Linked DNA regions of Homo sapiens: regions 1, 2, 4, 5 and 6 are each linked to region 3. Evidence: promoter capture Hi-C in 16 types of primary human blood cells and fetal thymus (Javierre and others, 2016). All regions are on one chromosome and are shown on one strand. The core of a region is centred on a gene start or on the middle of the fragment in contact, and the rest is flanking DNA. Distances in the headings are between cores, read along the strand shown.

What was found. Contacts are between HindIII fragments. The CHiCAGO score rates a contact against its expected background, and 5 or more counts as called.
Region 1: a fragment that was not itself captured here is called in contact with the fragment with the promoter of CDKN1B in region 3 in 2 of 17 cell types (total B cells and megakaryocytes); the score reaches 6.3 in total B cells.
Region 2: a fragment that was not itself captured here is called in contact with the fragment with the promoter of CDKN1B in region 3 in 3 of 17 cell types (M0 macrophages, monocytes and M1 macrophages); the score reaches 6.6 in M0 macrophages.
Region 4: a fragment that was not itself captured here is called in contact with the fragment with the promoter of CDKN1B in region 3 in 1 of 17 cell types (M0 macrophages); the score reaches 5.4 in M0 macrophages.
Region 5: a contact is called between a fragment that was not itself captured here and the fragment with the promoter of CDKN1B in region 3, in 3 of 17 cell types (non-activated CD4 T cells, fetal thymus and M0 macrophages). The highest score is 6.0, in non-activated CD4 T cells.
Region 6: a contact is called between a fragment that was not itself captured here and the fragment with the promoter of CDKN1B in region 3, in 5 of 17 cell types (naive CD8 T cells, total CD8 T cells, non-activated CD4 T cells and 2 more). The highest score is 7.2, in naive CD8 T cells.

The regions. Positions count from the first base shown.
Region 1 is chr12:11,744,655-11,748,566 of GRCh38, reverse strand. The region is part of intron 1 of ETV6 (ETS variant transcription factor 6); the gene reads right to left. Among named protein-coding and RNA genes, the nearest start is that of ETV6, 97 kb to the right of the region's middle. RefSeq lists an enhancer at 2,336-2,555. The HindIII fragment of the contact is 1,624 bases long and covers 740-2,363 here.
Region 2 is chr12:11,853,824-11,857,691 of GRCh38, reverse strand. The region is part of intron 4 of ETV6 (ETS variant transcription factor 6); the gene reads right to left. Among named protein-coding and RNA genes, the nearest start is that of ETV6, 210 kb to the right of the region's middle. RefSeq lists an enhancer at 1,955-2,531. The HindIII fragment of the contact is 1,377 bases long and covers 1,782-3,158 here.
Region 3 is chr12:12,715,082-12,718,617 of GRCh38, reverse strand. CDKN1B (cyclin dependent kinase inhibitor 1B) reads right to left here and starts at 1,250. Exons shown (of 3, transcript NM_004064.5): 1 at 304-1,250. The coding sequence starts at 778. It also overlaps a transcript of GPR19 not described here. RefSeq lists silencers at 684-872, 1,297-1,866 and enhancers at 1,047-1,146, 1,227-1,276, 3,533-3,536. The HindIII fragment of the contact is 7,251 bases long and covers 1-3,536 here.
Region 4 is chr12:11,720,865-11,724,691 of GRCh38, reverse strand. All of the region lies in intron 1 of ETV6 (ETS variant transcription factor 6), which reads right to left. LOC124902879 (a long non-coding RNA gene) reads right to left here. Exons shown (of 2, transcript XR_007063212.1): 2 at 2,259-3,827. Among named protein-coding and RNA genes, the nearest start is that of ETV6, 73 kb to the right of the region's middle. RefSeq lists an enhancer at 218-437. The HindIII fragment of the contact is 1,349 bases long and covers 886-2,234 here.
Region 5 is chr12:12,029,615-12,033,606 of GRCh38, reverse strand. No RefSeq gene overlaps it. Among named protein-coding and RNA genes, the nearest start is that of BCL2L14, 39 kb to the left of the region's middle. RefSeq lists a silencer at 1-252 and enhancers at 704-803, 1,254-1,303. The HindIII fragment of the contact is 4,828 bases long and covers 1-3,992 here.
Region 6 is chr12:11,992,682-11,996,183 of GRCh38, reverse strand. No RefSeq gene overlaps it. Among named protein-coding and RNA genes, the nearest start is that of BCL2L14, 77 kb to the left of the region's middle. The HindIII fragment of the contact is 4,872 bases long and covers 1-3,502 here.

The DNA of each region.
Region 1 (3,912 bases), core at 302-2,801, 970 kb after region 3:
ATAAATCACGGGGATCCCCTAGCACATTTACACATTTATTATTATACCCTCTGAAAAGGCTGAGGGGTTGGGAAACTTAGAGCCTACTGCTAACTAAATATTAACATTCTGGAAATAAAGCATTTTTGGAATTAATTAAAACAGAAATAAAGTTGGTTGTGCTTGCAAAAAGATGGTTTGCAGGTAATTTCAAAGATTTCTCTGCTGCAGAACTGAGATGTCCTTGATATAGAAACTTTTCCTGGAAATTGTCCCTATCCCCATTATAAATGCCAGGACTGCCCCCAGTGATGGCTTCTGAAGCCTAGTTTGAAAGTCCTGAGGAGGAAGAGTGTCATGGACACAGGATAGTGGTCATTTCCCCACAGCTAGGGTAAAAATGCCACAGGCATGCTTTCATCCCATTGCACTTCGGTGTCCCATCACTGTGAAGAAACCTGCAACCCAGATAAGATGGAAAACAGCAGGCACCAGTGACAAGAGTGGTCATGCCAGCAATATTCAGTATTTTGAGAGAAGGATCTCTTTTCCACCCTGCAGGTGTTTAGAAAAGCTGCCTGAGAAAGCTGATGCTTGTACCGTCGTCAACTTCTACAGATTCAACAGAAGAAACCTCTCCTATGGGAAGCTATTTATTGAAATTTATTAAAGTGAAGTCTGAATACACAAGTATTTAAGTACACTCTTCTGGCTGCAAAAATTTCAAGTGGTGGTGATGTTGGCTTTCATTAAGTAAGCTTTTATTAACAAGCTATAGACACATTAACAAAAAATTGAATACGCTGAAATTTGAGCTCTAGAGTTTTCTAGGTTTCTGCCACCAGGAAAGCACAGATATACACAAGAACCTAAAGTAATACACTCTTGAAAGTCGACATTTTTTTCACTTGAAAAAAGCTATTGAATATTTTGTCCACTCCAAAATTCAGTGAGACAAACGTAAAGAATTTGAGAGAAGATGCAAATGCCAGTCTTCTTTTCTAAATAGACATTGTACACACAGCCACAGAGAGTAACATTTTTGGAATCTCCCCAGAAAGAAAGAGCATACCCTAGCATCTCGGCTAGAAAGAACACCACAGAGACTCAAATGCAAATTTTGATGTAGCAAAATCCACATCCACCAAATCACAGAAGTGAAGTTCATGATTTCTTTTCATCCAGAGAGTTACCAGAAGATGGTTTAGACATCCAAGATGGTATAGGGGCCCAAGCTGGCTTTCTTCTTGGTGTCCAGTGTCCCCCCTGCCCTGAAAGCAACATCCCTCTGGATGCTAAGCCATTAATTTTTACAAGCCAAATGGTGTTTGGGTCTCAACATTCATCTTGCAGAATACATATCAGTACTTCCAAGGGGAAAAAAATGAGTGTACCCTGTGAAAATGAGGATGGGTAGGAACTATACTCCTAGCATCTGAAGTCTCCTCTCTAGGTTACCCAGATGGCCCACTCAGCCCTTGGGGAGAGGGTACGCCAGACAAACCAAACTCAATGTTGCTGTGGGGATCTTCCAAGGAGCCCGCTTCACCAGTCTTAAGGAGTGCCCTTTCTCTAGTTTATGTAGATGGTTCAGGACGTGAGATATTCGGATTCCTGTTTAGAACTGAAATTGTCCCTTTCTTCTGCCTTTCTGGATGGTTACATCCTAAAATCAGAAGGCAGTATATTGCTTCTGTCAAGCAGATACAATTAAGTCAAAGCATCTTAAGTCTTCCTCTTACCCAGACCTGTATTATCTTTGCATAGTGAGATTAAAAAAAAAAAAAAAAAAAAAAAGAGAGAGAGAGAGCATTAGCAATAAGCCCTGCAATCAAACATCTCTGTAAAAGGTCATTGAGTTTTTTTTCTCCCTATGATTAAGAAATATTTCAGCATCCATCAAGGGTCAACTATGAGGCTAGGCCTATAGCAGGCATTACAAATTATGCAATCATACATCCTAGAATTTCCAGGATGGTCTCAATATTTAAAGTTCCGTGTCCTTTTACCCATAAATACATATGGGTAGTTGTATATAAATACTTAACACCTCTCAGAACACGTGTCACAATTGTAGCTGGAAAATACAGTCACTGCCACAATCAGGAAAGAGAGCTAGCATTAAGTGAGCATGTGGTATGTGTTCCCATGAAGCCTTTATTTTATTTCAGCCTCACAATGACCCTGCAAGGAAGGCATCGTTATCTCCATTCCGCAATGAGGAAACTGACTTGAAAACCGCAGTTCCAGTCACTAGCTTGGGAGATGGTGTGGCTGGTATTTGCGTGCAGACTGATCTAACTTTACTTCTCTGAACTGCTTTATAATGCCAACCAGTCAACAATGACTTCACAATGGGGAATTCCAAGAGACAGGTTCAAGCTTGTAAAAATCATAGCAGCCTTCGAATATTTCGTTGCTCTGCATCCTCACTCCTCACAGAATTCCAGCAGGATTCTTGAGGGTGACTCAACAGAGCTGCCTAAGCCAAGGCACCTACCTTCTTATGCATGTTGCTTATCCTATGGGTAGCACAGACTGAGGGGTAAATGCATTCAGCTGACGGAAGGGGACTCTATCTGATGTATGAGAAAAGTTCTCATGGCATGACCCCTGAGCAGGAGTAGCCATTCGAATTTATCCAGGGATCTACATTAACCATGGGACACAATCAGTAGGACCAAGAGGGCATTTCCAGGTTGCTTATGCAAATGATAACTTGGCCGTGGCTAGAAATCTCACTGGGCATTTTTGAGTACAAACATATTACTTTCTATCCTAACATTGTCTTTAACAACAACGGAAGACATTTCCCTTGTTCTTATCTGCTTACCCAAGAGCAGCAAATCTAAAAGTACAGGTGAGATAAATAGAAGCAGTAAGGAGGAAAGAAGCCTGCCAACATCTATTTGGTGCCTATAGTGGGCAGATCTCTACACCAAGAAGGAGCTGAGTCTGCCCCCAGAAATCACAGTGGCCGCAGTCCAAGCAAGACCTCTCCAATGGCCCAAAGATGCACATTCCCAAGAGGGGAATGGATGAAGGCATTAAGGATATATGTGGCCTGTGGGGGAAAAAAGATTTAAAATCTTCTCGGAGATGTCTTCAAATATAGGAAGGACAAGTCTAAGAGAGACTCAAGGCTTGCTTGTAGTAGCAGAGGACAGAGCCAGCAACAGATACCGATGCACTAGAAGGAAGGCCTTTCAAACAGCTGAAGTCTCCAGATAAATGGGCGATTTACTGTTCTCCTAAAGCTGACTTAATGCTGAGGCTGAACAGTTACTCTAAAACACGTGCTTGCACTGGGAAGGAGCTGGAGTAGGAGAACTTAAAGGTTCCGTATAACTGCAAGATGCTGGTTCTATACAATCTTATCTCCCCTGGTAAGTTAGAGCTTATAAATTACAGTGTGGGTAGAACAGCTCCAAATAAAACACGGACACCACAGTCCCCTTCTTTATCAATTACTCCCCTATGCCTCCTCACAGGATCCTAGGGTTCTACTGAATATAATTAGAAAAAGCACTAGTTTCTAGAATTAGGAGCAATTTCTTTAAAGACAAGCACCAAAGCAAAAAACTTAAATCGACTTCTTTATTGTTCCCATTTTAAAACATTTTAATTAAGATACTTTCCATTCTTGACATGCCATGAAATTCTCTCTTTTTTTTTTTTCCTGAATTTCCTTAGATATTTCTAACATGGATAGTAAGCGGAAAGTAAAACTGTGATTCCTTGTCACGTCAGGCTGTGGTTACCAGGGAGGTCTATGAAGGTGGCCCAGTTCATGTGGCTGGAACCCAGTGTGGATGTACACGCAGGCAAAGTTACAAGCTTTGAACCTGCATGGGAAAATTTAAATCACACCATTCTGCAGCCCCAGGCTATACCTCTAATCCCTGCCATGATATAGAGGATTGCCTTTGCTCA
Region 2 (3,868 bases), core at 1,221-3,720, 860 kb after region 3:
TCACCCCAGTTTGTTTGTCGAGGATGGTTCTGGTTCTGGTTTTGCCTGAATATTTGATATGTAGTCCTGGCTTACTTATTGCTGGAGCCCTGTGTCACTGTCATAAGTGTGTTGGTATGGGTGAAAAATTATAAGGTTAACCTAATTATATAAAATCACCCTCCCTTCCCATAACTAATAAGTAAGGAAAAAGAGTGAAAATGCTGGTTTTTCTAGAGGTAAGTGTAATCTGAGGACTGCTTTGCTCAAGCCATGATGTGATTTCAGAATGGAGTACATTATAGAGGTAACAAATGTTCACATATAGAGAGTTTGAATTAGCATGATGATCATCCTCGTCTACTGTCAGGGCATGGAGGTGAACCTCTGAGCTAACACCAACTTCCTAGCTTCTAGCACTGCCACGTGGCTACTAACGAAGGCATGATTTCAATGTAAGTTTCAATGTAAGAAAGTCATAGAGGATACATGTGGGGAACTGGTGCTAGATTGAGCAAGACACATTTGTACTGTGATATAAATGCCCATTGTGAAATTATGAATGTCTGAACTGGTTAAGTTTGTGGCCACGACGAGGTGAAATCACAAGGCGGTTGAATGATGCCTTCTGTTTGCACTTGACCGTGCATGCTTCATTGTGCCAGGCTGCTTAACAGCTGAGTTGGGCCTTGTTCTCTTTCCATTCTGTCATTCCTATCCACCTATCCACCTACTTACCTACCCACCTACCTACTTACCTATGCCAAGTTGGCAGCAACATGTGTCATCTTGGGTTAACATACTTTTATATGGAACTGTATTCCCAGTTATGTAAAATAAATCACTGGGGAAGTAATATTTGATATGTATAATTTCACTTGACAGATTTTTTTTTCAGAACCAGATCTTTCTGTATGTTAACATATGCCCACATCAATCATCTGTTATCCTTCATAATTAAATGGAACAGTATTGATTCTGGAAACAATTTATGTTGAGCTGGATTTTTTTCTTTTCAGTGGAGAAGAAGGGAGAGAGAGAGGAAGTAGCTGGAGGCAGGAAACTTGTACTGATCCATGCACCTCTCTACTTGTTCTCTTTGTCATCAAGGGCACCATATAGCTGAAAGGCAGGAGGATAGGGAGAGGGCCACCTCTTCATATCACTTCTGTGCCTTGGAAAGCTCTTCTCCCTGGATACCACCGGATAAAGACCTACACTTCTCTCCTTGTTGTGTGCACCTGTTCACTGGAGCACATGCGCCCGGACATGCTCTCAGACCTTGCTTCCTGGCCATGAGCTTTAAGGAATGGTCTCTGAAAATGCACTACTTTTAAGAGCTGGGTCTGAAGCAGAGCTAACTGGTCTGCAGGGCAATGACACCCTTGACCTCGGCCTCATTAGCTCCATCCTCTTACCTACTGAGCTCACAACCACCAACATCATAATACTTGAGAGAAAGCTCATTACAGCGTATGCGGTGGCACATCTGTATTTACTTGGTTTGCGAGCAGCTCTCAGAGTAAGCCAGCTTTCTCTATTGCTGAGCTCCTGCAAATGAGAACAACAAACACACCTACTGCTGAGTCAAATCAGGCCAAAGGGAAAAGAGGAAGGATCTGTGAGGAGGAGAGACCATAAGCCTCCAATCACACTCAGGAATAAAATGGGGCTAAATTCCAAATGAGATTAACAAAAAAAATAATGAGAGAAAGACTAAGAGACAGAAAGAAAACCCATCACATACCCTTTGTATCTGAAAGGCAGGCTAGGTAATATATTCCTTGCCTTAATGTCAAGCTTCAGTAAACCCACCTCCTCTTCTCTGGAGTGGCTGGTGGCTATTATGCAAGCCGGAAATGCACATGGCAGGAAGAGCAAAAGAATGAATAACTGAATTGGGGGAGGAGGGCAGCTGCTAAATTTAGCAAGGGTAGAGTGAGGGGAGGAAAGGATGAGAGGAAGGCAGGGAGCGTGCACGAAATGCTGTTCGTTCTCCATCACGGAAGCGAGGGGCCCTGCTGTGAAATGCTTGGCACAAGGAGGTGGTGTCATCGCCTGGAGTCAGGCTCTCTTTTGTGAAGTGTTAATTAGGAAAAACAAGAAACTTCTCATTTTTTGGTTTGCCAACAACAAAACAAAATTGTTAGCCCTGCTCTTGGGGATGAGCAATCATTTTAAGGAAATGCCCCAAGGGACCAGGGTTTGAGGTCCCTAGTAATCTGCACCTAAGGAAAAGTACACATGAAGAAACTGATGCACGTTTGGACGTCTGTGGTCTGACCAATCCGAGCAGGAGGATCATGACCCTCAGAGGCACGATCCATCACTGAGTGCTCAAGCTGTTCAACTGTTTAATGCAATGGTGCTCAAGTAAGGTTTCCTTTCGCTTTGGTTTGGTGTTTTTGAGACAGAGTCTCGCTCTGTCGCCCAGGCTGGAGTGCAGTGGCGCAATCTCAGCTCACTGCAATCTCCACCTCCCGGGTTCACTCCATTATCTTGCCTCAGCCTCCCAAGTAGCTGGGACTACAGGCGCCTGCCACCATGCCCGGCTAATTTTTTTTTTTTTTTTTGTATTTTTAGTAGAGACGGGGTTTCACCATGTTAGCCAGGACGGTCTTGATCTCCTGACCTCGTGATCCGCCCGCCTCGGCCTCTCAAAGTGCTGGGATTACAGGCGTGAGCCACCGCGCCTGGCCTCAAGTAAGGTTTTTATACTCTATTTCTGTGCCCCAACACCTATTCTGGAACTAGGTCCAGGGCCTAAATTAAATTCTGGTCTTTTGCTTTCTACCAATGATTAAGAGGAACAACTGGGACACTTGAAATAAACACCGCCACTGAGTGAACTCTAACCAGCCTCCTTTGGTGCCCTATGCAGAAAGCCCTGGCCCAACACTGAGTTCATAGATTTGGGTTTTTTTTTCTTTCCTTCTTCCAACTTTTATTACCCCTTGCTAAAAAACTCTCCAATGACTTCCCATTTCTTTCCTCCATATTCCAGAAATCAAAGTTCTCCACACTCTGGTTCCAAGCTAAGCTCCTTGGACTAGCTCTGCAATGACAAAATGCTGATCATTGTGAAGGCAAGGGTGATGGCTCAGAAGGGTTTATTTATTTTATTCTATTTGGAGTATGTTTGAAATTTTCTGTAATAAAAGAGTGGGAGAAGATAAGCTTTATAATCCAAGTCATCTAATTGCTCTCTATTTCAAAGCCTTACCCCACCCTTACGTCATTTTCTTTGCCTGGAATGTTCTTCACTTCATCCTTGCTTATCAGAATCCTGCTGGATTTCTAAGGCGGGGTCCCCAACCTCCAGGTCACTGACTGGTACCAGTCCATGGCCTGTTAGGAACTGGGCTGCACAGCAGGAGGTGAGCGGTGGGGGCAAGTGAGTGAAGCTTCATCTGTATCTAGAGCTGCTCCCCACTGCTCGTATTACCGCCTGAGTCCCACGTCCTGTCAGATCAGCAGCGGCATTAGATTCTCATAGAAGCACAAACGCTATCATGAACTGTGCATGCGCGGGATCTAGTTGCACACTCCTTACGGGAATCTAATGGCTGATGATCTGTCACTGTCTCCCATCACCCCCAGATGGGAACGTCTAGTTGCAGGAAAACAAGCTCAGGGCTCCCACTGATTCGACATTATGGTGGATTGTATAATTATTTCATTATGTATGATAATGTAATAATAGAAATGAAGTGCAGAATAAATGTAATGCACTTGAATCATCCCAAACCATCCCTCACCTCCACTGTTGGTGGAAAAACTGTCTTCCACAAAACTGGTCCCTGGTGCCAAAAAGGGTGGGGAGCACTGCTCTAAGGCATACTCCAGAGTTGCTTCCTTTATGAGAAGACCCTGCTTCCTGCACCTGGCT
Region 3 (3,536 bases), core at 1-2,500:
CCCTAGCCAGGAGGCGGACCGTTGATAAACATCCCAACTTTGTCACATACCTAGGAGTTGCTAGTGAGAGGGACCGCGATGTATTAAGTTAGGGAAATTATCGGATCTTACCATCTCCAGTTTCTGACTTAAAAGTCACAAACAGACAAGCAGTGGGCCAGGTAGCACTGAACACCTAAGACCAATAAAGTTAGCTCTCCCAAAGCTAAATCAGAATACGCCGAAAAGCAAGCTAAGGTTAACACCCTCCAGCAGGCAAAGCGGGGCCCCAAACACATTCTATGGTTGGGAAAGGGTCATTACCGTCGGTTGCAGGTCGCTTCCTTATTCCTGCGCATTGCTCCGCTAACCCCGTCTGGCTGTCCGACGGATCAGTCTTTGGGTCCACCAAATGCGTGTCCTCAGAGTTAGCCGGAGCCCCAATTAAAGGCGCCGCCGGGCGGCTCCCGCTGACATCCTGGCTCTCCTGCGCCGGCACCTTGCAGGCACCTTTGGGGGGCCGCGGGGGTCTGTAGTAGAACTCGGGCAAGCTGCCCTTCTCCACCTCTTGCCACTCGTACTTGCCCTCTAGGGGTTTGTGATTCTGAAAATCGAAATTCCACTTGCGCTGGCTCGCCTCTTCCATGTCTCTGCAGTGCTTCTCCAAGTCCCGGGTTAACTCTTCGTGGTCCACCGGGCCGAAGAGGTTCCTGCAGGCCGAGGGCTTGGGGTGCTCCGCCTGCCTGGCGTCCATCCGCTCCAGGCTAGGGCTCCCGTTAGACACTCGCACGTTTGACATCTTTCTCCCGGGTCTGCACGACCGCCTCTCTCGCACTCTCAAAAAAACAAAACCGAACAAAACAAAGCGCCCCTACGCAGCCCGAACCCCTCTCGGAAGCCCAGCGACTGCCCTCGGAGCCAAAAGACACAGACCCCGACGAGCCACGGCCCGAGCTCTAGGAGCGCGCAGGGGCTGCGGGGAAGCCCCGGCCCGGCCGCCGAGTCTCCGCTGATCAAATGGACTGGCGAGCGGGAGGGCGGAGAGGAGAGGGGACCAGGCAAGCGGAGAGGGTGGCAAAGCCCGTCCGAGTCTGGGCGGGTGCAAGCCCGCGGGTCCCGCGAACCCAGCCGCTCTCCAAACCTTGCCGGCGTCGGAGTCGCAGAGCCGTGAGCAAGCGGGGACAGGGGAGGGGGAGAAAAACACCCCGAAAAGACGAGCCCCCTTTTTTTAGTGGCCCAATATGGCGGTGGAAGGGAGGCTGACGAAGAAGAAAATGATTGACACGGCGAGTCTATTTAAACAGAGGAGGAGATCCATTGGTTGCGGCGGCGGGAGCCGCCCCGCCGAGGCTGGCGAGCGCGGCCTTAAGGTGGCCCCGGCGCGGTTCCGCCACCTCCCCTCGTTCCCGAGCGCGCCGCCTCCCCGAGCGCCGCCGGGAGATTGGCTGGTCGCGTGACTGCTGGAGGGGTACTGCTGCCAACAAACCTGCTCTGGCTGGCCTCGGAGAAATTAAAATTAAGACAAACAAACTAGCCAAACGGCCGGGAACCTGGGGCGGGGCCTGAGGTTCGGGGCCCGGCGCTGCGTTGGCGGGTTCGCCGCGGCGCCTAAGCCCCGACCTCCCTCCCGCTCCTCGCCCGGGAAGCCGGGACCTGGACCAGAGGACCGCGAAGGTCGCCGGCAGCTCGCTAGGAGCCGGGGTGGCGAGCTGCCCCCAGCTCGGCCCTCCCCAGCGGCCCCCACCTCGTGGTCTGCGGGGGAGGCCGCGGAGCGTTTGCTGGGGGGGCTGGGCGCCCCCCCGCCGGCGTGCCTTTGCTGGGGGCTGGTGGAGGCAGTGGGCAATGGTTCGCTCAGCCTTAACCCAGAAGTTTCTGCCATCCCTGGGGAGGCTGGGGGCCTAGGGAAGAAGCCAAAGCGAACGTCTTTCTTTTAGAAATTAGCCAGGAGTAGACGCGGCACTTATCATGAACTCAAGCTCTCCCTCAATGAAAATAAGAAAGGAACTCAAGATTAAAAAAAAAAAACAAAAAACTCTAGTCTCTCAAGTCCCTTAATAAACTTTGTAGCTGTCTCAGACACGTTTAGTTTTGAAAAACGAGGGTACACCCCTGGCCCAGGATCTTCCTTCCCAAGCACAGTTAAGGCCATGGACATTGGCTGCGTGTGGGAACTCGTCCCTTTCTACTTTTCTGTTCTTTCCCGGGATTGTAGCAGTTTCCTCTACCTGAGTCCAGCCGCCAAATACAACAGCTCCTTCCTTCCTCCACCCTTCTCTCTCACCAGATTTCACTGCTCCAACAAACTCAGAACAATATTCAGATGCTAGTGAATGCTTTCAGAGGGCTGAAGGGTGAAAATACTCCCCTCGGGGTCAAACTCCAGATGATGAAATGATTTTTAAAACACCACAACCATGTCCTAACGTCCGATACTAGTATTCCAGCGTTTCTCTTCTCCCTTTTGCAGCTGGAAATTTCTCTCTCAGTGTGGGCTTGAGCACCGTGGTGGAAGGTAAAGTAGGACGATGAGCAGGGCTGCCCTGAGACAAAGCTCAGTGGATCTTCAACTGCCTCCCCACCCCCATGCCCGGTACCCATCATCTTGGTTTGAGCCAAAGTTAATGCATTTTACTGGAAACCAACCTTCCGTTCTAATATTACACAGCAGCAAAGTTTTCTTAAGCACCTATGCTACAGATGAGCTTGATGTGTAGCTTGTTTTCTTAGCCACATCTTGTCCACTTTGTGTGCCTACCTCATCTCATACGCTCCAGAATGTGACAGCTGGAAGGGACCCTCGGGACCCTGTGGTTTAACCCTCTCCTTTTTACCACGGAGGAAATCGAGACTCAGAGAGGTTTCCTGTCCAGGGACATGCATTCGGTTGGTACCGGAGTCAGGACTAGATGCAAGTCTCCTAACACTCAGGTTGGTTCATTTTCTGTTCCTTTCCTTCCTAATGGTTCTCACTGGTTCAGGGTTTTGTCTGAGTTTGATTGTGCTGTAGTCTGCAGGTCCTGCTGTCTTACAAGTGACTGAAAATGGCTCCTTCCCAGGCCCTGGGTTGCCTGCAGATGTTTCCTTGATGTGGCCTGTGGTCACTGATATTTAAATGCAGCTGTCTTGAGCCTGTGGTATCACCATCCACTAGTTCAACTAAAATTGAAGGACAGGGGTTGATACCCAGAGAACAGTAAAGGGGGCAGTGCCCAGAACTAGTTTTCAAGTCAGGACTTCCTACCTAACTGACAGAAAAGAATTCACCTAGGATCAAGCAAGAGGTCTCATCCTCTTTAGTTTTTCTACTTTTAAGGCTGTCAATTTATTGGACTGCAGACTGGGGGAAAAGGAACAGGAAAATTAGGGTAGGCCTCCCTACCATAATTTATACCTTACCCTAGAAATTAGATAATTGTCCAAATTTTAAAACAATTGCTAGACAACACAGGAACTCTATATATGTGCATCTATCCATATGCATAAACACCCAAACTACCACATGTATGTAAATGGAGACATTCTAGAGTAGTTCACCTTGCCACAGAAGTTTGATTTTA
Region 4 (3,827 bases), core at 311-2,810, 990 kb after region 3:
AGGCTTATTATTTTTCAGCCCCTCACTCCCCTCAACTCTTTATTCTTGTCACCAACTCAACCCTCTTCTGATACACAGAGCACAAATAAAGGCTTCCTGAAGACTAGGCCTTACTTGTCTTTGTATCCTACCCTCCATCTCTGCTAGTATCTAGCAGAGTAACCGGCATATAGTAGACTTTCAATGTTCATTTAATACTCAGCCATAGGGCAAGCAAAGAGAAACAATGAGGAAATAGACCCTTGAAAATCACACCGCATACAGATTCTCCCCTAAGTATAAAGTCTCCTGGTACTGATGGGCACAGGCCCACTCCACGTGATCGGCTCAAAATACTAAGGATCCACGAACAGGCCTTGCAGCTTTCTCCCAAACCATACTCCTTTCTCTGGGAGCTGCCTGCCAAGAAGGCTGCGCATGGAAACCTTAAACCTTGCTGTAAGCCCTGGCCACATCAATGGTGCAAAAGTAGCCCCTATCAGGACCTGTCAAGGGGAAACCTGAGCTGCAAGAGTAACTGGAGACTCAGGCAGCTGACCTGCTTACGATCCCTTAGTTGAGAGTTTAAACCAACTGTAACTGGGCAGTACTTGACAACCAGCTTCCCTAATGAGACCAAGAGTTAGGAGAGCTGACACACAGCACCCTCAGGTCAGGGGTGGGGGAGGGAGTATGCCACCACTGCACGGGTCAGAGAACATAGGGTGACTTTAAAGGCCCTGTTCTTCCTCTGGGCACCCCCGAGAGTGTAGGTCCGGCCCTCCCAGACCAGGACTCCTATGCTCTTCCTGGGGACTCTCAATGACACCTGGCCTTGTCCCAAGGAATACTCGTTTTAAAGATTTTTGATGGGTGGTCCAGGTAGAAGCTAGTGAAATAAAAGCTTTCTCAATGGTTGGTGATGCCACCTTGTCTTGACATGTGGGCCCCTGCAGTTGGGGAAAAGAAAGAGCAGAGGCCAAATTTACCAATGTGTTGGTCAAGGAGAGGCCAGGATAGGACAAAGGAAGAGAAGGGAACCCTGATAGATAAACCCTGTTTGATTTTTAAGGATAACGAGATTCAAGTAATTAATGTTCACCAAACTCCTACTATGTGCCGGGTACCACGCTGGAATAAAAGGCAAAGAACAGGTGAACAGTCCTGAAAAAACTCACAAAGGTCATACTTTATAACTAAGGTACATTTTCTTTTTCATTTAGAATGGATTAATTTTGTCACAATATGGCTTTTGAAGAGCAAGAAAGAATGGAAGGGAAAAAGGAATAACTGAAAGTGGAAGAAAGAAGGCAAGCAGGACATGGGAAAGGAGGGAGAGTGCGTTGTGGGTATTAAATGTGATAATCCTTGCAAAGTACTGAGTCAATCTCTGGCCTATAGTAAGTGCTCAAAAAATATCAGTCACTATATTCATTGTTACAGAGAGCCTATAACCGTGTCATACTAACCTACAATGCACACTTGCCATAGAGCAGGGAATGTTCTAAGGGCTTATCACATATTAATTCATTTAATACTCACAATCCTATGAGATATTAGGATTCCCATTTTACAAATGAGAAAACGAGGGTACAAAGAGATTCTGTAAACTATCAACTACCCAGTCACACAACTACCAAGTGAGAGATCTGAGATTCAAGCCCAGGTAGTCTGACTTCGGAGCTCAGCTTCTCATTGGTTTCACCTGTGGTTATTAAAGTGCGGTCCCTGGAACCGGGAACTTCTCAGATTTGCAAATTCTTTGTCCCACCCCAGTCCTACCAAATCAGAAACTCTGAGAGAACGGCCCAGCAACTGTTTCTAAAAGCCCCTGAGGTGATTCTGAGGAACACCAGAATTTGAGCACCTCTGCATTAATTACATTACAGTGCTTCTCCACGTAGTGGCTAAGTTAAGGCAGATAAGAAAACATCACTTCCTCCCCGGATCTGGCCTCACCTGGCAATGGGCAAAGGTCAAAATATTTGGGTTGTCCATTTCTCTCAGTTTAGGGCCTGGCCTACAACTGGGGTTTGGGAGAGTAACTTCAATTCTCTTCATTTTAGGAGAAATCAGTTTGGCTTTTCTGACTTTACTCTTTGACGTAGAAAGCCTAGGAGAGAACAACAGGCCTTGAATATTCTTAGAATAGTTTAACTCCTTCATAACGTCTGAACATCAGTTAGCAGATTTAATAGGCTGCAGTGCCCCAAAATGTCCACCATTAGATTAAAAATGAAACTTAAAAGAAAGCTTTGCTTCCAGTGTGTTAATTTAGCTTCCAACAATGCCTAGCAGGTGAATGTATCTCTACATTTTACTGGAGTTAACTCAATTATTCAAAGCGATTACAGTTTGTGGATTATCTGAGCCTCCTTCTTCTCCTCCCTGGAGCTGCTCACCTTTTGGCCATTTCACTGTTCATTAGCACCTCTACTGAAGATACCCAGGGGAGAATAAAAGGTGAGGAAACTCAAACCAGTCGACTTTTCTCCTTGTTAGCAGTTCTGATAAAGACTTGGTGGGAGAAGAATTATTATTGGCTAAAACAAGACACTGGGATTATCTATGGCTTCAATTTTCCATGCTCTCCCAGCCCCTAATTATCAGATACAGTCAAGTCAGCCTAACTTTATAGTGACAGCCCAGTCTACAAGTGAGCAGGGGCATAATATTCAAATTCTAGAATTTCCACAGAGGTAACCTATGATACCTTCTTCCTTAAATTACAGCTCTCAAAAATGCCAGGGTGATGGACAACTTTGATCACAGGTGAAAAGGCTCAAAAAGAGATCCCACAGCATTTTAACAGCTGACTTTTCCCACCATTCAAACTTTCTATGACCTAACAGAATATGTACATCTTAATATTTTACTCTCGTAAGAAAAATAAGGAAACTAATGTTCATTAGGCATCTATTATATGCCAGGGTGCCAGACCCTCTGCTGGATGTCTTATAAATATTACCTTGCTTAATTCTAGAACAATTTAGGAAATATTTTTTCTTTTCCAACTTTTACTTTAGACATAGGGTTTACGTGTGCAGGTTTGTTACATGGGTATCTTGCATCCAGGTAGTGAGCACAGTACCCAAGAGGTAGTTTCTGACTCATTAACCCCCTCCCGCTCCTCCCTCTAGTAGTCCACAGTGTTTATTGTTCCCATGTTTATGTTCATGAGTGCTCGATGTATAGCTCCTACTTATAAGTGAGAACATGCAGCATTTGGTTTTCTGTTCCTGCATTCATTCACTTAGAATTATGGTTTCCAGCTCTTCCAACATGGTTACCCATGTTGCTATAAAGGACATGATTTCATTCCTTTTTATGGCTGCAAAGTATTCCATGGTGTATATGTACCACATTAAAACAAAATCAAATCCACTGTTGATGTGCACCTAGGTTGATTCCATGTCTTTGATACTGTGAATAGCGTGGCAGTAAACATACAAGTGTATATGTCTTTTTGGTATAATGATCTAGTTTCCTTTGGATATACACCCAGTAATGAGATTTATGGGCTGAATGGTAGCTCTGTTTTAAGTTGAGAAATCTCCAAACTGCTTTCTACAATGACTGAACTAAGTTACATTTCCCCCACCGGTGTATAAGCATTCCCTTTTCTCCATAGCCTCACCAGCATCTGTTATTTTTTGACTTTTGATAATAGCATTCTGACTGGTGTGAGACAGTATCTCGTCGTGGCTTTGATTTGCATTTCTCTGATGATTAGTGATAATAAGCATTTTTTCTTGTTTGTTGGCTGCTTGTATGTCTTCTTTTAAGAGGTGTCTGTTCATGCCCTTTGCCCATTTTTTAATGGAGTTATTGTTTTTTTGCCTCTTGAT
Region 5 (3,992 bases), core at 668-3,167, 690 kb after region 3:
TACCTGTCTGGAAGCTGGAGCCTTTGATGTACATCCACAAGAGCCCCAGAAGGAAGCTGTTTTGATAAGCTGTGGTCACCAGGTGGCGCTACACACACGCTGTCAAGTCCAACAGTTTTTCAGACCTGCAGGATTTTTCCAGATTTACCGAAGCAGGAAAAAACAGGAAAAACAAAACGGGTCCAGTACTTCAGCTCAGAATAGTTGAGTTGAAAAGAGGTGGAAAACCCCCCAGACAGCTTGCCCTCTTCAATCGTGTGGCAGAGCATCCACTTGGTGCCCTTCGGATTCTTTGAGTAAATGTGGAGCTGGCTGGCTCCTCAAGGGAGTGTGGAATCAGGACGTGGCTGGTTCCGGCTGCAAGAAAGTCCCGGTTATTCTGCGAGGGCGAAAGAGCTCCAGCGTTAGGGCTTCAGCAGAGGCGGTTGCTAAGGCGCACCAGTCCTTTACTTCGGACCAGTCTGACCTTAACGGGAAAGGCAATTTCCCTTTCTGTATGGGGAACTCATTTCCTTTGTTGCTTTCCTTATTTTCCTCCCAGGGTCTTTTAATTCCATCCTGATTGGGGCCTGAGAGGAGGGCATGGGTGAGGTGTGAACCAGCAGCGCCCTTTCTTCCTTCTCGCTCCGCCCCCAGGCAACACCCTCCAGCACCCAAGCCTACCCTCTTCCTCCAACGGAAAAATGCACACGGCATATCCGTGTCTGTCCACATGCCGGATTTCCCGGCCAGTTCTGATGTGAAATATCTTGAAAGTTTGCTAAGGGGCCACTTTATATTAAAAGAGGATTAAAAAATAAAGAAAATCCCATACCTCCAATCTGAAAGTCTTTTCTTGGTGCCATAAAAAAACTGAGCTATCAGCCCTCTGGTACCTTCGATTCCAGGCCAAAGGCCACTGCCTGGTGGTGACGGCCAACGTGGAGGCACCCAGGCCAGCTCCCACGGCATCTCTGCCGACAAGCAGTGACTCCAGCAGATTGTAGTAGCACCTACACAGCCAGAGCTACACCCAGGTGCTTGCTTTGCTGCAGTTTGGGAGGGATCAATGTTCCAGAGCAGCGGCTCACCAACCTTAGCATGGCTCAGTTGCTGGGCTCCACTCCCAGAGTTTTTGGGTGAATGCGTCCAGGGTGCGGCTGGGAAATTTGCATTTTTAAGAATTTCCCCCTGAGGCTGATGCTACAGTCTGGAGACCACACTTTGAGAACCACTATTTCAGAGTAAAATGCTGGTGGGAGGAAAGGAGCAGCAGGAAACAGCCGATGACTGTGGTGTGGCCGGTCTTTCTCCCAGGCGGGGTGGGGTGTGTGTGCCAGGATTGCAGGGTCACCAGGAGGGCCGGTTCTGTGGGGGCTGCTGAAAATCCTTATCCCTCCTTTCTAGACTAGTGGTTCTGAGACTTGGCAGCACATTGGAATCACTTTGGGAGCTTAAAAAAAGATACTGATGACTGGCTTCTAGCCCCAGACGTCCTGATTTAATTGGTTCACAATGTGGTTTGGGCCCTGGAAGATTTAAAAGCTCGCTAGGTGTTTCTGATGTGTAGCCCAGGTCGAAAAATCACGGTGCTAGGTCCACGTCTTACTGCATTCTTATATCCAGTCCCCAGTAAGTGTAAGTTCTCACCACCCATTCTCAAACCCTTCCAGCTGTCTCTCATACCTCCCTGCCTCAGGCTGAAAAACACTGGCACCTGTCTGAGTACTGACTTCCTATTTATCCTTCAAGACGCAGGCCAAATATTTTTTCCGTGGTGGAGATTTTTCTGGCTTTCCCTAACAGTTCATCTCCTAAAGCACTGTGGATACACTAGAACTATAACCTTTATCTTTCACTTCATCGCAATTACATTCACGTGCTGAATGTAATGATGTTTCAGTCAAAAACCGACTGTATGTATGAAGGTGGTCCCATAAGATTATAATGGGGCTGAAAAATTCCTATCACCTAGTGACGCTGTAGCCATTGTCATGTTGTAGCTCAATTACTTTATTTTAAAAATAAACAGTGTAGCCTAAGTGTACTGTGTTTATAAAGTCTACAGTAGTGGACAATAATATCCCAGTCCTTCACATTCACTCACCACTCACTCACTGACTCACCGAGAGTAACTTCGAGTTCTGCAACAGCCATTTTGGTAAGTGCCCTATACAGGTGTACCATTTTTAATCTTTTTTTTTTTTTTTTTTTTGAGATGGAGTCTCGCTCTGTCGCCCAGGCTGGAGTACAGTGGCCCAGTCTTGGCTCACTGCAAGCTCCGCCTCCCGGGTTCATGCCATTCTCCTGCCTTAGCCTCTTGAGTAGCTGGGACTACAGGCGCCTGCCACCATGCCCGGCTAATTTTTTGTATTTTCAGTAGAGACGGGGTTTCACTGTGTTAGCCAGGATGGTCTCGATCTCCTGACCTCGTGATCCGCCCACCTTGGCCTCCCAAAGTGCTGGGATTACAGGCATGAGCCACCACGCCCAGCCCATTTTTAATCTTTTATACTGTACCTTTTTCACGTGAGGTTTGTTTAGATACCCAAATACCATTGTGTTACAAGTGGCTATGATATTCAGTACAGTTACTTGCTGTACAGGTTTGTAGCCAAGGAGCAATGGGCTATACACCGTAGCCTGTTTGTGTTGTAGGCTGTAGGCTGTACCATCTAGGATTCTGTGAGTGCACTCTATCATGTTCACACAACAAAACTGCCTAATGATGCATTTCCCAGATGTATCCCTGTCGTAAAGCCCTGACTGTATTTCTGTTCATATCTTCCCTCCCTGCTTGATGGTTAATAAAAGTTGGTGATTGAATGAATTCCATAGTTGGAGATAATGTTAAAATGCACAGGTTCTCTTTTTTGTTTTGTTTTTTTTTTTATTGGAGACAGGGTCTCACTCTTTTGCCCAGGCTGGAGTGCAGTGTTGCAATCATGGCTCACTGCAGCCTCGACTTCCTAGACTGAAGAGATCCTCCCACCTCAGCCTCCTTAGTAGCTGGGACCACAGGCGTGCACCACCACTCCTGGCTAATTTTTGTAGTTCTGTAGAGATGGGCCTTCACCATGTTGCCCAGGCTGGTCTCGAACTCCTGGGCTCAAGCAATCTGCCTGCCGTGGCCTCCCAAAGTGTTGGAATTACAGGCCTGAGCCACTATGCTCGGCTATTGCACAAGTTCTGGATAAGGAAGTTTATTAATATCAGTTCTGTACAATGAACCTAGTGCCTCCAGTGGGGTCAGACTTGGGTGGGTGCTGGAGAAGCAAAGTTGAGTGAGCAGTGCACACTGCCCCTGAGGAATGAATTCCTCTGCAGGCTGAGCTCTCTGAGGCTCCTTGTGCTTTCATCATGACATTTAGCTTGGGAACTGCTTTCAGAGATACTGACCTGGAGCACAGAGGAGCCTGGGTCTCCTTTTCATCATGCTCTTCTGTGGCTCTCACCACCCACAGGATTAAGTAGGTTTCTTTGCATGTCTTTCATAAACTTGCGCTTGTCTGCCTCTCCCAAATATTTAATTCCTTGACCCTGTTTGATGCTTGGATCCTAGTTCCTTGCACACACCATGCTATTGCCAACTTATACCTTTCTATTCCCCTGAGATGATCTTCTCACCTTTGCTAGTCCGGGTAACTGCCAAGGCTTGTGGGCCTTCCTGACCCCCCAGGCTGAGTGCCTTCTCCTGTATTATATTCTCTTAGGATTTTATACATACCTCTATCATTATGTGGAAATAATCCAAACTAGTTTTTTTATGAGCCTGGCACACAGTAGGTGCTTTATAAGTGTTGAACTGAGATGAATGCTTACAGAGTGATTCTCAAACTTTATTCTACCTATGCATCATTCACATGCAAAACACACTCCCACACTTTATATCGTGCATGAGACATAGTGTTTCTTCATCCAGGGTAATGGGTTTAGAATAGGTAGGCACATCCTTCCAGGGGAATCAGGATATGAGTGGGAGGTAGGCTGGGACTAGTTAGAAATACCCTCCT
Region 6 (3,502 bases), core at 786-3,285, 720 kb after region 3:
ATAAGGCTGAGACCTCCTGGGCTGCATTCCCAGTAAATTAGGCATTCTCAGTCACAGGATGAGCTAGGAGGTCGCCACAAGACACAGGTGATGAAGACTTGCTCATAAAACAGGTTGCAATAAAAAAGGCCAAAAACCACCAAAACCAAGATGGCAAAGAGATTGACCTCTGGTTGTCCTCACTGCTACACTCCCGCCAGAGCCATGGCAGTTTAGGAATGCCATGGCAACGTCAGGAACTTATCCTATATGGTCTAAAAAGGGGAGGCATGAATAATCCACCCCGTGTTTAGCATATCATCAAGAACTAACAGTAAAAATGGGCAGCCAGCAGCCCTTGGGGCTGCTCTGCCTATGGAGTAGCCATTGTTTCATTCTTTTACCTTTTTTTTTTGAGACGGAGTCTCGCTCTGTCCCCAGCCTGGAGTGCAGTGGCGCGATCTCGGCTCACTGCAAGCTCCGCCTCCCGGGTTCACTCCATTCTCCTGCCTCAGCCGCCCGGAGTAGCTGGGACTACAGGCACCCACCACCACGCCCGGCTAATTTTTTGTATTTTTAGTAGAGATGGGGTTTCACCGTGTTAGCCAGGATGGTCTGGATCTTCTGACCTTGTGATCCGCCCGCCTCGGCCTCCCAAAGTGCTGGGATTACAGGCGTGAGCCACCGCGCCCGGCCGCTTTCACTTTTTAGATTTGCCTCGATTCTTTCTTGCGCGAGCTCCAAGAACCCTCTCTTGGGGTCTGGATCGGGGCCCCTTTCCGGTAACAGGATGGGATGCTATCTTCAGATAGATAGCATTGGCATTGAATTGAAGGACATGCAGCTTGTGTCCGTGTTGTTTGTTGCGTGAAAGCAGAGGAAAAGCAGTTTGTGTGTTTTCTCTTCTGAATTTTACTGACACAATGATTCTTTGATTTTGGAAAGGATTCTGAGTTCTCTGTGCACTGACGCTCCCTGGCTATGATTTCTTGGATTACTTCTTGAATTTCTTTGATTATTTTCCCTTATGTCATTATTTGGATTTGTTCTTTTGATGTGTTCTGCTGCAATGTAATCGTAAGTTCAGCTGCAAGACGTCAGGTGCCCCATCCTTCACGAGGAAGAGGCGAACACAGGCTCTTGGAGTTAAAGCTGATAAGATGCGTGGGGCCAGGTGGGAAGGAGCCTTGTTCTCTTTCCTTGGCTCCGTTGTGCATTCTTACTCTCCACCTTGCCAGCATGTGTGAGGTTTCTTTAAATCCTGTTTGTGATTATCTCACCTTGAGAAAGTAAAGGAAAAGGAATACAAGTGCCAATTTGGAAGGATTTGGATGTATCAGACCAGGAATTTCCCACAGAATATTGTTATTGTTACTCAACTTTTGCCCTTGGAGAAAGGTGAAGGAAAAGCCACGTTGATCATGTTAGGTGTATATGTGTATGTATATATATAATTTTTTTTTTGTAACTTTTGCGACAGTCTCCCTCTGTTGCCCAGACTGGAGTGCAGTGGTGCTGTCGGCTCACTGCAACCTTTGCCTCACAGGTTCAAGTGATTCTCATGTCTCAGCCTCCCGAGTAGCTGGGATTACAGGCGTGCACCACAACACCTGGCTAATTTTTCTATTTCTAGTAGAGACGGGGTTTCACCATGTTGACAGCCTGGTCTTAAACTCCTGACCTCAGGTGATCCTCCTGCCTCGGCCTCCCAAAGTGCTGGGATTACAGGCAGGAGCCAACATGCCCAGCCAGGTGTAGATATTTTTTCTTCTTTTTCAAAAAAATTTGGAATTAGAGACGGGTCTCACTAGGTTGCCCAGGCTAATCTTGAACTCCTGGCCTCAAGCAATCCTCGCACCTCGACCTTCTAAAGTACTGGGATTACAGGTATGAGCCAATGTGCCTGGCCAGGCATAGTCATTAAGTATGATTTGGTTTGGAAATCAACAGTGTTCATTTAGCAGTTATTTTGTCTGACTTTCTAAGACCTCAGCCCCTCCAAAAATTCTCTTCTGAAGGCACAGGAATCTCAGGACAATACACTAGCACAGCCAATAACAATTAGTTCTCAACTCCTCTGCCTGGATCTTAAAAAGAAACTAGCCAATGAAGGGCAGGTCCCCATTCTGATCTCATGGCCATGGAGAGGGGGATCAGCTGTTTCCTAGCCATCTGGATGAGTGGGAGCACCCTGAGAGTTGTAAGTCCTCCTCAGAGTGAGTGCTTTGGTGCATGTCTTGTTTAGCTGGATGATAATTTGAGACCTAACCTGATATTTACAATTTCCATCATAAAAGAAAGGCAAGAAAAAAAAAAAAAGAGGGGACTGTCTTTCAATTGCCAAGTTATACGTTAAGGGAGGTAATGAACATCCTCATGCTTCATTCATCCTGAGCAAGAAATATCAGATTGGAGGAATACGCTGCATTGGGACCTAGAGTGGGAGAATAGAGTGATGGCTTCTCTATCTTTTCCTTTGCTGTGTACAGTCCCCAATAACCCTATCTTTCTTAAGTGGCTAGTGTAGAGTGGCCAACTTAATTAAAACACACAGGAGGACTAGGGAGGATTTGGATAAGCCATTGTCACCATGGGGGCCATATGAGAATGTGGATGACTAATAGCAAAACTGTCTCCACAAATGTGGAGAACACACCTCCTGCCAATGTTGGATTAACTGAATGATCTCTGGATATTGAGAGATGCATCGTAATTACTATTAATAAGAATAAAATTAAAATGACAGTAAGCAATACATTGGCCTCCCATCAGGATTTCTTGTTCTGAAAATAGATGTCTCCTACAGAAGGCTGAAACAAACTGGAAGGAGCCCCTCCTCAGGTGATAATGTGACACCTTCCTTGGCCATGTGAATAGTGAGCACATGCTTGGAAATTTAAAATGGAAAACAGAGAACATGTGACTGGTCTCATTCTGACCTGTGGTTTTTTTTTTTGCCATATCATGTCTTATCAGACAGGATGCTTTCTTTAGCACTCGACAAAAGCAGTCCTACCCCAAATAGCTTAGGCAAAAAGGGAATTTATTATTCATGTGATGCTCTGGGCCTGGGGGGCTGCTTGTTTTCACATTGCTGCCATCATGCCCCCTTTCTATGTATGTCATGACCCTAGCCACCTTCATCTTGGCCTTATTCTCAGAGTCTCTTCCTTTGGGGTCACGGTGGCTGCACAACTCCACGCTCACCTCTTCTCACCTTCAAGTCTCAGGGGAAAACATATCAGGTCACTTTTCCAGAAGTCCCAGCAAAAGTTCCATTTCATCTCATTGGTGCTATTGCATATTATGGGTGCTATTGGATTATTGCAGAGAATGCAGCGCTTTGACTGAGAGAAGGAGAGGTAGATTCTTGTGAGGGCTGATTTTAGGTGTTAACTTGACTGAGCTAAGGGATGCCCAGATAGCTTGCAACACATTATTTCTGGGTGTGTCTGGGAGGGTGTCTCCAAAAGAGATTAGTGCTTGAATCAGTAGGCTGAGTAAAGAAGATAATCTTCATCAG